Regions from separate parts of the Homo sapiens genome. Here region 2 is linked to region 1. The links are contacts of gene promoters, found by promoter capture Hi-C in blood cells and fetal thymus (Javierre and others, 2016). All regions are on one chromosome and are shown on one strand. Each heading gives the region's core, a stretch centred on a gene start or on the middle of the fragment in contact. The rest is flanking DNA. Distances are from core to core; before and after follow the strand shown.

Region 1 (6,916 bases), core at 2,612-5,111:
GCTATTATGTATAATTTTCTGTCTCAAGGAAGTGAAAGAAGAACATTTGAAGTAAATGGCTTTGTGGAGGGAATTCCTATAGAATATATCATACAGGAAGGTTTGTGAGTATAGAGCAGTGCAGTTCAATAGAACTTTCTGTGATGATGAAAATATTCTGTATCTGCCCGGTCCAATATGATAGCCACTAGCCACATATGGTGATTGAGCACTTGAAATGTAACTAGTGTCAAGTGACTGAGGAAATGAAACTCGAATTTAACTTAATTTTAATTAATTTCAATTTAAATAGCCACATGTGGCTAGTGGCGACCAGATTGAACAGAGCAGATACAGAAGAGCAAATAGCAGTGATAAATGAGGCTGGAAAAGTCAGCAGGGTCCAGATCTGGAAAAATTTTGAGAAGTACATTAATAATAATAGACGTTATCTTGAGACCCACAGAGAATCCTGAAAGGGTTTTAAGTTCCAGAGAATAACACAATCACATATGTGTTTTTGTTTGTTTGTTTGTTTGTTTTTTTGATACAGAGTCTCGCTCTGTCACCCAGGCTGGAGTGCAGTGGCACAACCTCGGCTCACTGCAACCTCCGCCTCCTGGGTTCAAGCGATTCTCCTGCCTCAGCCTCCCGAGTAGCTGGGATTACAGGCTTGCACCACCACACCCAGCTAATTTTTGCATTTTTAGTAGAGACGGGCTTTCACCATATTGTCCAGGCTGGTCTCAAACTCCTGACCTCTTGATCCATCTGCCTTAGCCTCCCAAAGTGCTGAGATTACAGATGTAAGTTTTAGAAAGATAATTCTGGCTGTCTTGGGGAGAAAGATGGGAGGTGGGTAGAGACATTGATCTTGTCTTTAGAAGTTTCATCTATAAGGGGAAAGATGGGAAAAGAAGCAGAAAAATGACTGGAGGATATCTCAGAGATACAAAGAAGTGTATAATCGACCACACCCAGCCACATACAATACTCATATATGTATTTATATACGTTGCACATAGTATTTGTTAACAGTAATGACCCATATTTCTTGCTTTTTTCCTAGTTGCTCACAGGGCAACTAGCCTCTTAAGCGTTTCTGGGTGTCCCCAAAGGTACCTGAGCTCAGAAGTAAGTCTGTCAACAGAGTATCCATGCAGCATCCACCTTGTACATTTTACTCCGCTCTTCTCATGGTCCTCACCACTGAGGCTACTTTTGACTGTGGCCATGCTGAGAGGTGACAGCGTGCTGGCAGTGGTGACAGCGTGCTGGCAGTCCTCACAGCCCTCGCTCGCTCTTGGCGCCTCCTCTGCCTGGGCTCCCACTTTGGCGGCACTTGAGGAGCCCTTCAGCCCACCGCTGCACTGTGGGAGCCCCTTTCTGGGCTGGCCAAGGCCGGAGCCGGCTCCCTCAGCTTGCAGGGAGGTGTGGAGGGAGAGGCGCGAGCTGGAACTGGGGCTGCACGCGGCGCTTGCGGGCCAGCTGGAGTTCCGGGTGGGCGTGGGCTTGGCGGGCCGCGCACTCGGAGCAGCCGGCCGACCCTGCCGGCCCCTGGCAATGAGGGGCTTAGCACCCGGGCCAGCGGCTGCAGAGGGTGTACTGGGTCCCCCGGCAGTGCCAGCCCACCGGCGCTGCGCTCGAGTTCTCACCGGGCCTTAGCTGCCTTCCCGCGGGGCAGGGCTCGGGACCTGCAGCCCGCCGTGCCTGAGCCTCCCACCCCCTCCATGGGCTCCCGTGCGACCCGAGCCTCCCCGATGAGCGCCGCCCCCTGCTCCACGGCGCCCAGTCACTTCCACCACCCAAGGGCTGAGGAGTGCGGGCGCACGGCGCGGGACTGGCAGGCAGCTCCACCTGCAGCCCCGGTGCGGGATCCACTGGGTGAAGCCAGTTGGGCTCTTGAGTCTGGTAGGGACGTGTACAACTTTTATGTCTAGCTCAGGGATTGTAAATACACCAATCGGCACTCTGTATCTAGCTCAAGGTTTGCAAACACACCAATCAGCACCCTGTGTCTAGCTCAGGATTTGTGAATGCACCAATGGACACTCTGTATCTAGCTACTCTGGTGGGGACTTGGAGAACCTTTGTGTGGACACTCTGTATCTAGCTAATCTGGTGGGGAGGTGGAGAACCTTTTGTCTAGCTCAGGGATTGTAAATGCACCAATCAGCGCCCTGTCAAAACAGACCACTCGGCTCTACCAATCAGCAGGATGCGGGTGGGGCCAGATAAGAGAATAAAAGCAGGCTGCCCGAGCCAGCAGTGGCAACCCGCTCGGGTCCCTTTCCACACTGTGGAAGCTTTGTTCTTTTGCTCTTTTCAATAAATCTTAGTACTGCTCACTCTTTGGGTCCACACTGCTTTTATGAGCTGTAACACTCACCGCGAAGGTCTGCAGCTTCACTCCGGAGCCAGCGAGACCACTAACCCACCAGAAGGAAGAAACTCCGGACGCATCCGAACATCAGAAGGAAGAAACTCCAGACGCGCCACCTTAAGAGCTGTAGCATTCACCGCGAGGGTCCGCGGCTTCATTCTTGAAGTCAGTGAGACCAAGAACCCACCAATTCCGGACACAATGCTAATGATCTCAGTGCTCTGAAAGCCAGTAATTCTTAAATTGCCAAGAAAGGCACTCTGTTCTCTGTGGAAGGGGGAGTAAAGCCCCTTCCTGAGCAACCTAAGATACAATTCTTGGCTAATCATCCCCTTTATACTCAGAGCAGTTTCTTTACCCATGACCTTCTGGCTTTTTTTTTTCCTCTCTACCCTGTCTAACCCTACCTATGGGATATGAGAAAACAAAACAGAATGACAAAAATAAGTCTCCAGGAACTGATGATGGTAAGGTGCTATTGGGTCTGTCCTAAATAATTTTGTTTCCCCCTTCTAGAAACCAATGCAGACATGCACATGCACATTACATCCCCCACGTCTTTTCTGGCACACACCACACAGAAGCACATACACTTTATGCACAAAGACATCTTCATCTCCTAGCACTTCAGGGGACATTCCCATACAAGGCTGAATTCACTTGGGGTTGAGCCAGCACCACGCCTATTCCATGTATGTTTCTGCAAAAGAAATGGACGAAGGAGTACATAAGCAATCACAGCTCAACAGTCAGATATAGTAATACTATGCATGGAGTTGGAGCAATAGCGTGGCATAAAGTGAAGTGCATGGACCCTGGTGCCAGCCTGACCTGGATTCAAATCTCACCCTGGTCACATTTACTAACTGGGTGGTCTTGGGCAGATCACTTAAGCACTCTGAACTTGTTTTCAATTCTATAAATACCATCTCTTTGGAGGGCTGTAAAAATTAAAAATAGCACATGCGCAGTGCCTGTACCTAGAAAGTGCTCAATAAATGAAAGCTGCTGTTACTACATTGGTGTTGGAAGCTCGGGATGCCACTTGTGAAGGGGGCACAGAAGAAAGGTCAGACTGCCACCATACCCTGAGGGCTCATCTAGTATAGTTCCCTCATTTTATGGTTGAGGACACTGAAGCCAGAGATAGGAAGAGACTTGGTCAAGGTCACACAGCAAATCAGTAACAGAGCCAGGCCAAGATTCCAAGTGTTTCTGGAAAGGTTCAGCCCAATGCTCTTTTCTGCAGCCCCTATTGTCCTCTGATATGACAATGTGTACTCCTGTTCTGCCCCTGGGGATTGTCCACTCAATGGGTGGGCACGAGAAAGAGCAGATGAGGTGTTTGTGGTAAAGCCTAAGCCAGTGCAGCCATCCCCGTCGCCATGGCAACCCCAGCGCGGTTGGGGAGGACCCGCTCCTCCGGCGCCCCCTCCCATTCACGCAGCGGACGTGACACGTGCGGCGGGGTCACGTGTTGTTGTTGGGCCGGGAAAGCTGCTTCCGGGTCAATGCAGGACACTGGGCTCCGGCGGCCAGAGTGGGGGACTAGGTGAAGCGGCGCCGGGCCGGGGCTGGCCGGGACCAGGCCCGAGGCTGAGCGGCGGCGACAGCGGTGGCCGGGAGGGGGGAGGAGAGGCGCAGCCAGAGGAGCCGCCGCAGTAGCTCCCCCGCCTCCCGGGCTGAGGGGTGAGTGGAGCCGGGCCCGCTGGCTCTGCCGGGCTCTCGAGGCCCGAGGCGTTCCCCTCTGGAGCCGAGGCGCGGAGGGTCGCTCCTGCAGGGTGCTGGGATAGGACACTCGGGGAAGGGTGAAAGCCACATGGGGCCTGTCTCGAGCAGCTGTGGGGATGGGAGACCTGCCCTGGGGCTAGAGGGAGGATGGGGCCTGCCTGGCCTGGGCTATGGCGGAGCTGGGAGGGTCTTGGGCTGGGCTGGGCTGGGCTGGGCTGGGGGACTGGTCCCGGGTTGGAGGAGGGCGTGTTGGGGAGCCTGCCCGGGTTCCTGGGAGAATCTAGGCGTCTCACCTTGCCCCAGCGTGGGGGATGGGTAGATGCCTCCCAGCTGTTAGAAGAGGGAGACGTGTCTGGGACTGCTGGGGAAATAGGAAACTTGTCTCTGAACTACTGAATCCCAGAAAAGAGGACATGTCCCCAGGGAGGTTTGCTGGGGGAAGGACGGGCATGTCTAGGCCCTTGGGACATTAGGCCTGCTCTTACCAGGGGCTGATAAAAGGATGTGGATGTGGTAATTGAATAAGGGCTTTTGGGAGAAAAGATTTGCCCCAAGGTTGGGAGACTGAGAACGAGGGTGTTGGACTGACAGGCGGGTGCCTTGTCGTGGGATCTTGGGGGAAGTAAGGATCTGTGTGGAGCTTCTCTGTTGAGTTCTAGGTCCGCTAGTAGGAAGACATTCTGGGAATTGGTGAAGAGAGGAGATTTAATAGTCTTTTCTTGGGACACAGTGATTCCAGAAGTTGTAGTTGAGGAAAGTTGGTTGGAAGTGTTGAACTGTATACAGTCAGTGGAGAAAGGAGGAGCTCTACTGTGAAGGTTGCTAGGCTACAAAGAGCTTGTAGGCAACGCCTAGGGCTGTTGAGAGAAGTTGGTAATGCTTTCAAGTCCAAATACAGGCTGAGCTGGGGCTTGTCCCTTGTTCATGTCATGCTGCTGTGGAGCTCTTACGTTTCCAGTAGTCTATCTTGAGCAAAGAGTATGAATAGGTGCTGAGGACTAAGGAAAACATTCACTCTTTGGGTCCTGAGATGCATTAGACCCAGATCTCTAGGGTGGTAGCTTTCAAACTTAAAAAAAAAAAAATTATGCCCCACAGTAATAAGTATGTCTTACATTCAGATCTAGTACATACGTAGGTATGAAGGGAAACTTTCACAAAGCAGTATTTACCCTTATTATATGTGATATGTTCTGCTAATTTCTATTATATTCCACCCTCTTGCATTAAAAAAAATGCTGGCTGACATTTACTAAATTGATGATTTGTGGGTCACAACTTGCAGTTTGAAAAACACTGTTTCTGAAGCACATTTATTTGGTGTCAATCAGTGTCCTCATTCTGTAAGCTTCTAAAGAGCAGGGATGATTCTAAGGAGATGGATTTTTTTTTTTTTTATTTTATTTTGGCCGGGGGAGAGGGAGGAGGGCAGCTAGGTGCAATTGATTGCTTCGGTTTAGATGTTTATACCACGTAGCATATTTGACCTGTGTTTTCTGAAGGACCATAATCTTGATCTTTAATATCTTGATGTTGCCTGATCATTTGATTGATGAAATTTTTTGTATGCGTGTGTGTTTTAGTTTCCTTTATCCTTTGCTGTGTCTGAGAAATATGAGAGGCCTAGTTCCACTTAGTTGCTTTATCACAACATAGTTAAAGAAATTTTATTTTACTGTTCCAATGTTGTGAAGATACACTGATTTTCTTTTCTGCTATTTAAAAACATCCCAAATTCTTCTTACTGCAGTAATTATTATGATATACTTTTTGCTACATGATGAAAAATATATGAAAAATACACGATAAAATATATACCAAAGCCATAGACATATTTAAAAGCCTTACAGTCTACGGCTTTGGTATATAAACTTAATCATAAACCTAAGTATAACTTTCAATCAGTTAACATCTTAATTCCCCTTACAAAAATTTTAGGTGGGGTCCTTAGAAAAATAGTATTAATTCATAATAAACATTAATGACTGTTGGTGAACAAAGTGAGAGTCCTTCATGTAATGTTAAATGTTGTAATGTTAAAGTCCTTTGAAAAGTTGTTACATAGCCTATTGCTGCAGGACATTGAGTGTCAAAGGATGTTGTCTAATTTCAGTAGGTACACAGGGTATGTATTTAAGACCAGTTTAATAGCGTTTCTTTTTTTGAGGATGAGTTCGTATTATTTGTAACATAGAATTCAAAGACACGGTCATCAGGACAGAAGTACCCAAGTTAAAACTTCATCAGTGGGGCCACATTCTTGATCAAATGCTTTACGAAAACATTCTATCATCTTTGAACTTTGTGTGTTATAAATCTTTCTTGCCTTTAATTATTTATTAGGTACTGATAGAGGCGTTATGCTGGCATATATCAGCCATCCTTTAAAAATGACCTCTTAATCAGGGAAATATTTGTTTTAAAATATTTAGCTTTAATGAATGTTTAAAGAAGATTTTGTTTTGTAGGTGCCTGGAACATTAAGGAAGATTCTTATTTATTTCATTTTTCTGGGAATCATATGTACTTGTCAATAAACAGTTACGGAGAAGTGACCCTGAGTGATTGTGTGTGCTTTTTAATAGTTTTTGTTTCTTCTCTGATCCTTAGACTCTTAAGCCTGTCCACCTGTAGCAGGCTCTTTTCTCCTTCTAATTTTTGCCTCCAAACTACTATGGTTTTGAAAATCAGATATTTATATTTGTTATATAATACTTTTTTTTCCTTTTCTTAGTGTGTGAACTGTGTGACATGTATGTTGGCTACTTAGAGACCAGTTTACTTAGTCCTGGGCTGTGTTTTAAATAAGTGAACTCTTTATAT
Region 2 (7,630 bases), core at 956-3,455, 170 kb after region 1:
GTATTCTCATTACTTGGTGGCTGGAATCATTCTTATTGATGTTAAGCTTTGTACACTAAATAGCATGCCATGAATTTTTTTTTTAAAGAAGTAGCAGCAATTGGACCAGGAAGGCACTGTTGGCCAGAACATTAATGCACCATTATATTGTTGTTCATGTGTACTTACAGAGCATTAGCAGAGCATTAAGGTTCGGTGTAGAAGAGAAGCAGGCAGCATCCTCTTTTGTAAGTGGTACAAAAACACGTATCTGCTATAATTAACTACAAAATGGAAGGCCTGCTAAATATATCCCTGGAGTGCTTTGCTTTCTAAGGGCAAAAACAAAGTAAAACCCACTTCAGGTTTATTTTGAAGTTGTCTTGGATTTAAACGGATAGCATTTTTATATTTTTCTGGGAACGCTGAAAAGCTGAGCAAAAATGCTTAGTGTTCTTTGAACATGAGTGTGAGTGAAATGGCCATTGTCTCATATGTCAAAGCACTGGCATCACACTGTCACTGGGCTGAAGAAGTGCGGTGTAGACTGAGTGTGCACTGAGCTGTTTTGTTCTCCCAGCCCCCTGGGAGAGTCAACACATTCGAGCTTATCTCAGCAGTCACACATGCTGTGCAGCTGAGCGGACAACTGGTATTGATGGAGAAAAATATGTGTCTGCTTCTGCTTGGACATCTTAAGATCTTTTGGGGAAATGCTGAGCACTGAGATGGATTAAGGAGTCAAGCCATTGTCTATTCTAGCTGAGACACAGTACTTCGTCCTCAGCAAGATAGAAATGGATGTTAGGTGTGTGATCTTTTTTTTTTTGAGACGGAGTCTGGCTCTATCGCCCAGGCTGGAGTGCAGTGGCACGATCTTGGCTCACTGCAAGCTCTGCCTCCCAGATTCACGCCATTCTCCTGCCTCAGCCTCCCAGAATAGCTGGGACTACAGGCACCCGCCACCATGCCCCGCTAATGTTTTGTATTTTTTTAGTAGAGACGGGGTTTCACCATGTTAGCCAGGATGGTCTCAATCTCCTGACTTCGCAATCTGCCTGCCTCGGCCTCCCAAAGTGCTGGGATTACAGGCATGAGCCACTGCGCCTGCTCTAAGTGTGTGTTCTTTGTTTGCATGAAAACCTGGATTCCATACTATCCCATACTTCAAGATCAGAGGATTCAGATGAGCTTATGCACCATTTCCATTCATGCCATTAAAGGTTTAGGCTTTTGAAATCAAACAGATTATGAGCTAAATATAATAATGTGTCATTTATGGTTTTACCTGAGATCCTTAGATGATTTTTTTTTTTCCCCTGAGACAGGGTCTCACTCCTGTTGCCAAGGCTGGAGTCTATTAGCATGATCTTGGCTCATTGCAGCCTCGACTTTCTGTGCTCAAGTGATCCTACTACTTCAACCTTCTTAGTAGCTGGGACTACAGGCATGCACCACCATGCCCAGCTAATTTTTTATATTTTTAGTAGAGATGAGGTTTTACCATGTTGCCCAGGCTGGTCTCGAACTCCCGGGCTCAGGCAACCCACTCACCTTGGCCTCCTAAAGTGCTGGGATTATGGGCGTGAGCCAACACACCTGCCTTTTTAGATGAATTTTAACTGAAAACATACAAGGAGGAAATGGTGTATTACTTACTTGACAACACCTCTTTATTGATTCCCATATTAAAGTCATTAGAAATTCCTCGATTAAAAATTCTAGTTTTTTTTCTTAAAGCTTTTTACTTGAAATCCTTTTTGCCACACTTTCATTCTTGGCTTTTGGTTTTCTCACTTGGTTGGCATCCTTCACATGTCTACCATCAAGATAAACCTGGTTGTAATGCCACAACAGAAAACCCCAGGCCAGGTGTGGTGGCTTATACCTATAATTCCGGCACTTTGGGAGACCCAGGCAGACAGATCACCTGAGCCCAGGATATTGAGACTAGCCTGAGCAACATAGTGAGAGCCCATCTCCACAAAAAAAATACAAAAATTAGCCAGGGGTGGTGGCGCATGCCTGTAGTCTCAGCTACTTGGGAGGCTCAGTTGGGAGGATCGCTTGAGCCTGGGCGGTTGAGGCTGCAGTGAGCCATGATCATGGCACTGCAATCCAGCCTGGACAACAGAATGAGATTTTTGTCTCAAAAAAGGAGAACACCCCCACAATCTCAGTGACTTAACAAAGGTTTCTTTCTTACTCACACAAGTCGCCCCTGCTTTCATTGTCATCCTGGAATGGAAGTTGCTGGAGGCTTTATTATCCTTCAATGTTGTCAGCTCAATGTGTGGCTTCAAGATTCACCTTTGCAAGGGAAGACAGCCTGGAGAATCCCACCGTAGCTCTTCCGTGCTTCTGCCTGAAGTGACACATATCGCTTCTGTTCCCACTTCATTGGTCAATGACAGCCAGATGGCTGTAACTGACTTTTAGAGATGAGGAAGCACAAACATCCCGTGTGCCTGGAAGGCAGAAGAACTGGAAATCAGTGGTGATGGTGCTCACATTGCCTTTGAGTCCGTCACTTCTATCTGGATTAAAGAGAAATACTTCTACAGAACTGAAAACAAACGGGCCCTTTAGTTGACTTCCTGGAAGGCAGAAGAACTGAGAGATGATCCTGACTCTTCCACTAATTCTCTACTTGAAACACAAATTATTACATGCCTCAATACCTTAATTTTCCTCTAGGTAACATAAGAACATGAAGCTTCTTTTCATATGTTCTTATGTCACAAAGTGGCACTAGACACTTGAACTGGGGAACCCCACCCACTCTCCTACCCCCTCGAACCCAATCCCTTCTCTTTTTACAAAGAGAAGCCATATGATAGTATATGTTAAGATAACTTCAGAGCATTGCCTTTTCCTGCTGCTCTAAAAGATTTACTTGCGGGGTGAAGGGGTGAGAAAGTGCATGCTTAGCAAAGGTTGAAAACGAAGTTAATTGGGAATCTTATTGACTTGGTATTTGTTTGATATCAAAAGAAACATCTTGGGGTCTGACATTTGTGACCACTGGGAATTCTGTAATTAGTTTCTCAACCAGTAGTAGGTATGTATTCTACTCAAAATTCTAACGACAAAACTTGAGAGCGCTAATTGTTTAACATTGTCTAATATTCTAGCTATTTTTAGAACCATTTGACATTTAGTGGGAGCTTGAAATCTAATAAAATTTCTTTCAACCAGAGGAATTAAGTAATTATCAAAAGACAATCATGAAGGGCTAGGGTAATAAAAAATTACTTCTTTACTAATTCTGAATTAATTTACCATCCACCCTGTTTTGAACTTCCCAGCCTTTCTCCTAAAACTCAGGGGATCTCTACAGCTTGTACTTCATTGCAATTTGGGCCTGTTTAGAAGACCATGATGATATTTTGCAGTGCCCCATACGCTGACATCTGCAGCACAGTCCAGTGAAAAAGGAAATGAAACAGCGCCCTCTAGTGTCTGCTGTTTATTTTTGCATGAAGCTCAAATGTGTATTGAACCACACCAATCGAATTATGATTCCGGTCCCCCGCCCCACTACCACCCTGAAACCTTAGACGCAGGACATTATGAGAATATAGCTTTAGAAAACACATCAAATGCCAAGGACGTTTTCTGGAGAACAGTATGGGATTTATTTTTATGCATACCGTACGCATTACTCCAGGAAATACCAGCACTTGGCATCCCATGCAAATTTTGCCCTTAATATCCGTTTCTCTAATGTGTTGACAAAAATAGCTGTCAAGAAAAATTAAGTACCTCTTTAAGATGTTGAGAAATAAACAATCTGATCAAGAAAAACCCATGCAATATTTAGTGGTCTTTTCCCCCCAGCAGAATGTGAAATACTTTCACATGCACCTACAGCACAACGGCAATAACTCTGTTCTGACTAATGGAAGGCTCTGTTTGTGATGGTTTAATTATGTTTGCTGAAATACGACTCTCATATAAGACAACATCTCCATGGCAGAGGGACAGATCTCTGTGTCTATAGATAGAAATAAAATACAAAAGACTCATCATTCCATGAAGAACTCAGCAATCAAATTCTATTTGCTAAGGAAACAAATGGAGGAAGAATGTTCACTGTACATTTCGTTGTGTGTTTCTGTTTGCATCTAGCCTCTAGGTTAGCTGTTGTTTTGTTCAGTAGCATAAGATACTGATGGTGAAATAATTTTGAAATTAAGATAGTCTCCTATTGGACGAAATAACAATCCCTTACACAAATGTAGCATCTTTCATAACAAATGCTTTGCCACTGTATTTAATATTGTTCAGTCCTAGATCATGCTGCATTCTGACAGAGAAATTAGAGGAAAAGTACTAAGTTGAAGTTATATATATCCAAAAGTACTAACTAAAGAAGAACATAAACCTACTCATATATGTATGCTTTTATGTGTAGGTTTATTTAATAATTTTTAACTTCTAATGAGACATATTAGAATGATAGTGACCTTTTGAGCCTTTTAAGAACAAACAAACTTAGAATTCTTTATTTTCTCCCCCTAACTTTTGAATTCCTTTGTGGAATACTTTAGGGTACAAAAATCCACCGATATTGCCCTATTTTAATTGGGCAAAAATACATTATTTTACTGAAAAAGATAACATTTAATTACTTTAAGGCTTGAAAACCTTTGCGTTGGATCAACCTAGTATTAGTGGAATTATTTAAATTTCAAGACTGTAGGCACATAGAAATTTGTTACTGAGTTAATTATATGTTAACCAAAGGCAGAAAAAACAAGGTTCCTAGTATTTCCCTTTTATCTGCCAAAAACATTCTTAATTTAACAGGCCATCCTGGTCCTTAAATGTGGTTTATATAACTAGGTGGGTCATTCAAATCAAGAAGTTACAAGTGTGTATTTATTCACACTTTCCATGAGTCTCTACGTTGATGACTGCAAAATGCTGTTAAGGAATATCTGCAGCCGTGCAGGGGACGGAGTCTGCTCTCCTGAAAAGTCACGATCAGAAAGCAATTTGGCAAACTAATTCGACAAGGGGAAAATGACTTAACATATAATGCAGAAGCATCTAGGTGTCATATCAGAATATTCAAAGCATAAAATGAGAAAAAGGGCTGTGGATAGCACATAACCCAATTTTTTCCCCCTAAAAAAGCCCCATATTTGAAATGCTTACTTTGAATCTCCAAGAGAGAAGAAGAGTGGAAGTATTCTGAATATTAATTTAAGATTAGCAGGAATGTAGTGAGTCTAGAGATACTTGGCCACTATGGATTTTATTCATGTCTCCTGTTGTTAGCCTGTTCTATTTGTATTCTCAACCTGGTCATGTTGATACAAAATTACTTTCATTAGTTAATTTTAAGTAGAACCCCAAAACTAAGTTGACATTTGTATCTTGTTTAGACAAATTTCCCTGAAAACACAGGCTGCCTAAATCACAGGAAAACATGTCTCCATCATACAAAGTTAAATGCTTCTTATTTTGAAGAATAGTTTCAGACAGTCACAACCCACAAGGACTTTGTTGTATTTCTAGGCATTATACTCCAGAAACACAAATTCGGCAAAAGTCAACTTTCCAGGTAGATCCCCAAAGAGGCACCCCTAACTCTTGCAAACCAAGAGACCTCACGGCAACAACTATTTCTCTGTCCTCTGCCTTAGGGTTTTGCATACTTTGTTAGGAAGATACAACTGTAGAACTTTAATGTGTGGTGATTTGATAAATTTTACAATAAAATTTGTAAAATGTATGGTTGTATTTCTAAGTCTTCTACCAGAAAGTATCATTCTGAGGTGCTCTCATGTTATAGAAACAGCAACATAAACAACAACAAAACTCCTCATCTTTGGGTCTGCTGTTAGAAGTGGGTTCTTTCAATGCCACCGCTAAAACATGCACTTGAGTCACTGATCACTGGCAAAGTCTGCTCTTATTGTTTTATTTGTAAAACAATTCCCACATTACTTATCCCAACCCTATTGTAAGTTGATTTTTTTTTTTTTTTTTTTTTTTTTTAAGACGGAGTCTCGCTCTGTCGCCCAGGCTGGAGTGTGGTGGCGCGATCTCGGCTCACTGCAAGCTCTGCCTCCCGGGTTCATGCCATTCTCCCGCCTCAGCCTCCCGAGTAACTGGGACTACAGGCGCCCACCACCACGCCCGGCTAATTTTTTTGTATTTTTAGTAGAGACGGGGTTTCACCATGTTAGCCAAGATGGTCTCGATCTCCTGACCTCGTGATCCACCCGCCTCGGCCTCCCAAGGTGCTAGGATTACAGGCGTGAGCCACAGCACCTGGCCGAGTTTTTCCTTCTCACCAGAAGAATGTAAATGTACATGGGTTGGAAAAATGAGAGTGGCAGAACCTTTTAGTTTTGTGAAGGTAGCACAAGGATATTTTGTTCCTATATGTTGCAAAGTGCAGCTGAGGATGATGGAAGGAGTGCAGAGGGCCAGGGCTGTGGGTGGCCCCTGCATTGGCCTCAACTTCTCATGGAACCCTGAGTTAGCCAGGTGGGCCAGATGCCCTTGAAGGTACAGTCAGTCTCCTTCCAAAAATGTAAAAAAAAAAAAAAAAAAAGGAAATTCACTTTACTAAAACCCCTAAGCAGATTTTTATCAAAGATAGAGAAAATGATCTTAATTCTGAGATATTTGGAAAATACTATCAGAAAGAAAACAATGAATCTCTCAGATTTAATTCAGTGAGTAAAAATCTACTGGAATCAAGAACTAAGAAATAAAATATAAACACAGGATTGCCCTGAGGAAAAAAGTTTGAATTTAACAAAGTAATTCCTTGTAGACACTAAACCAATGTAAAGCAAGCAACCAAGGGCTTTGATGCCACTGCCTTTAAATAAACACATGATTTCATAAATGGAAAAAAAGCTAAACTGATTACCTTGAAAAATGAGTAAATAAATATTAGAGCAAATCCATAGATGTATTAGCTCGTTCTTGCACTGCTGTAAAGAACTACCTGAGACTGGGTAATTTATAAAGAGAAGGTGTCTAATTGGCTCACAGTTTAGCAGGCTGTACAGGAAGTATGGTTGGGAGGCCGCAGGAAACTTACAATTGTGGCAGAAGGCAAAGCAGGCATTTCTTCACATGGCCAGAGCAAGAGGAAGAGAGAGAGCGGGAGGTGCTACTCACTTTTAAACAACTAGATCTCATGAGAACTTACTATCATGAGAACAGCAAGGGGGAAATCTGCCCCTATGATCCAATCCCCTCCCACCAGGTCCCTCCTCCAACACTGGGGATTACAATTCCACATGAGATTTGGGCGGGGACACAGACCCAAACCACATCAATAGGATACTAAGAAACACCAGTAATTTCCCCCGAGGATGCTGCGAAACAAGTTCCTTGGCCATTCCTTTAGCTATAAAGTCCCAGTTATTAAGGACATTAAGGTTCCATTTTATTTTTGCATTTTTGTGTGTATGCGTGTGTGTGTAACTTAAAGCTTCAGGGTAAAAGTTGATGAATCTTAAAATTTTTAGTATTTAGCTCTAAAATTTTATTCTCCAAAACACATCAATATTTAGCAAAGGTTCTATTTTATTTTCCCAAAGTTAGATGGCACTAGAGTTTTGTTATTCAAAATCCATTCATCTCCATTTATTAGGCTTTCAGATTCTGAGAACTTCTT

The links. The method cuts DNA at HindIII sites, captures the fragments that hold promoters and counts their contacts. A CHiCAGO score of 5 or more calls a contact.
Region 2: a contact is called between a fragment that was not itself captured here and the fragment with the promoter of TBCEL in region 1, in 1 of 17 cell types (megakaryocytes). The highest score is 5.8, in megakaryocytes.

Annotation. Positions count from the first base shown.
Region 1 is chr11:121,020,241-121,027,156 of GRCh38, forward strand. It overlaps TBCEL (tubulin folding cofactor E like), which reads left to right and starts at 3,862. Exons shown (of 9, transcript NM_001363644.2): 1 at 3,862-4,051. It overlaps TBCEL-TECTA (TBCEL-TECTA readthrough), which reads left to right and starts at 3,862. Exons shown (of 30, transcript NM_001378761.1): 1 at 3,862-4,051. RefSeq lists silencers at 3,676-3,825, 3,846-4,115. The HindIII fragment of the contact is 3,156 bases long and covers 2,284-5,439 here.
Region 2 is chr11:121,191,482-121,199,111 of GRCh38, forward strand. It overlaps TBCEL-TECTA (TBCEL-TECTA readthrough), which reads left to right. Exons shown (of 30, transcript NM_001378761.1): 30 at 1-9. TECTA (tectorin alpha) reads left to right here. Exons shown (of 24, transcript NM_005422.4): 24 at 1-9. Among named protein-coding and RNA genes, the nearest start is that of TECTA, 94 kb to the left of the region's middle. The HindIII fragment of the contact is 976 bases long and covers 1,718-2,693 here.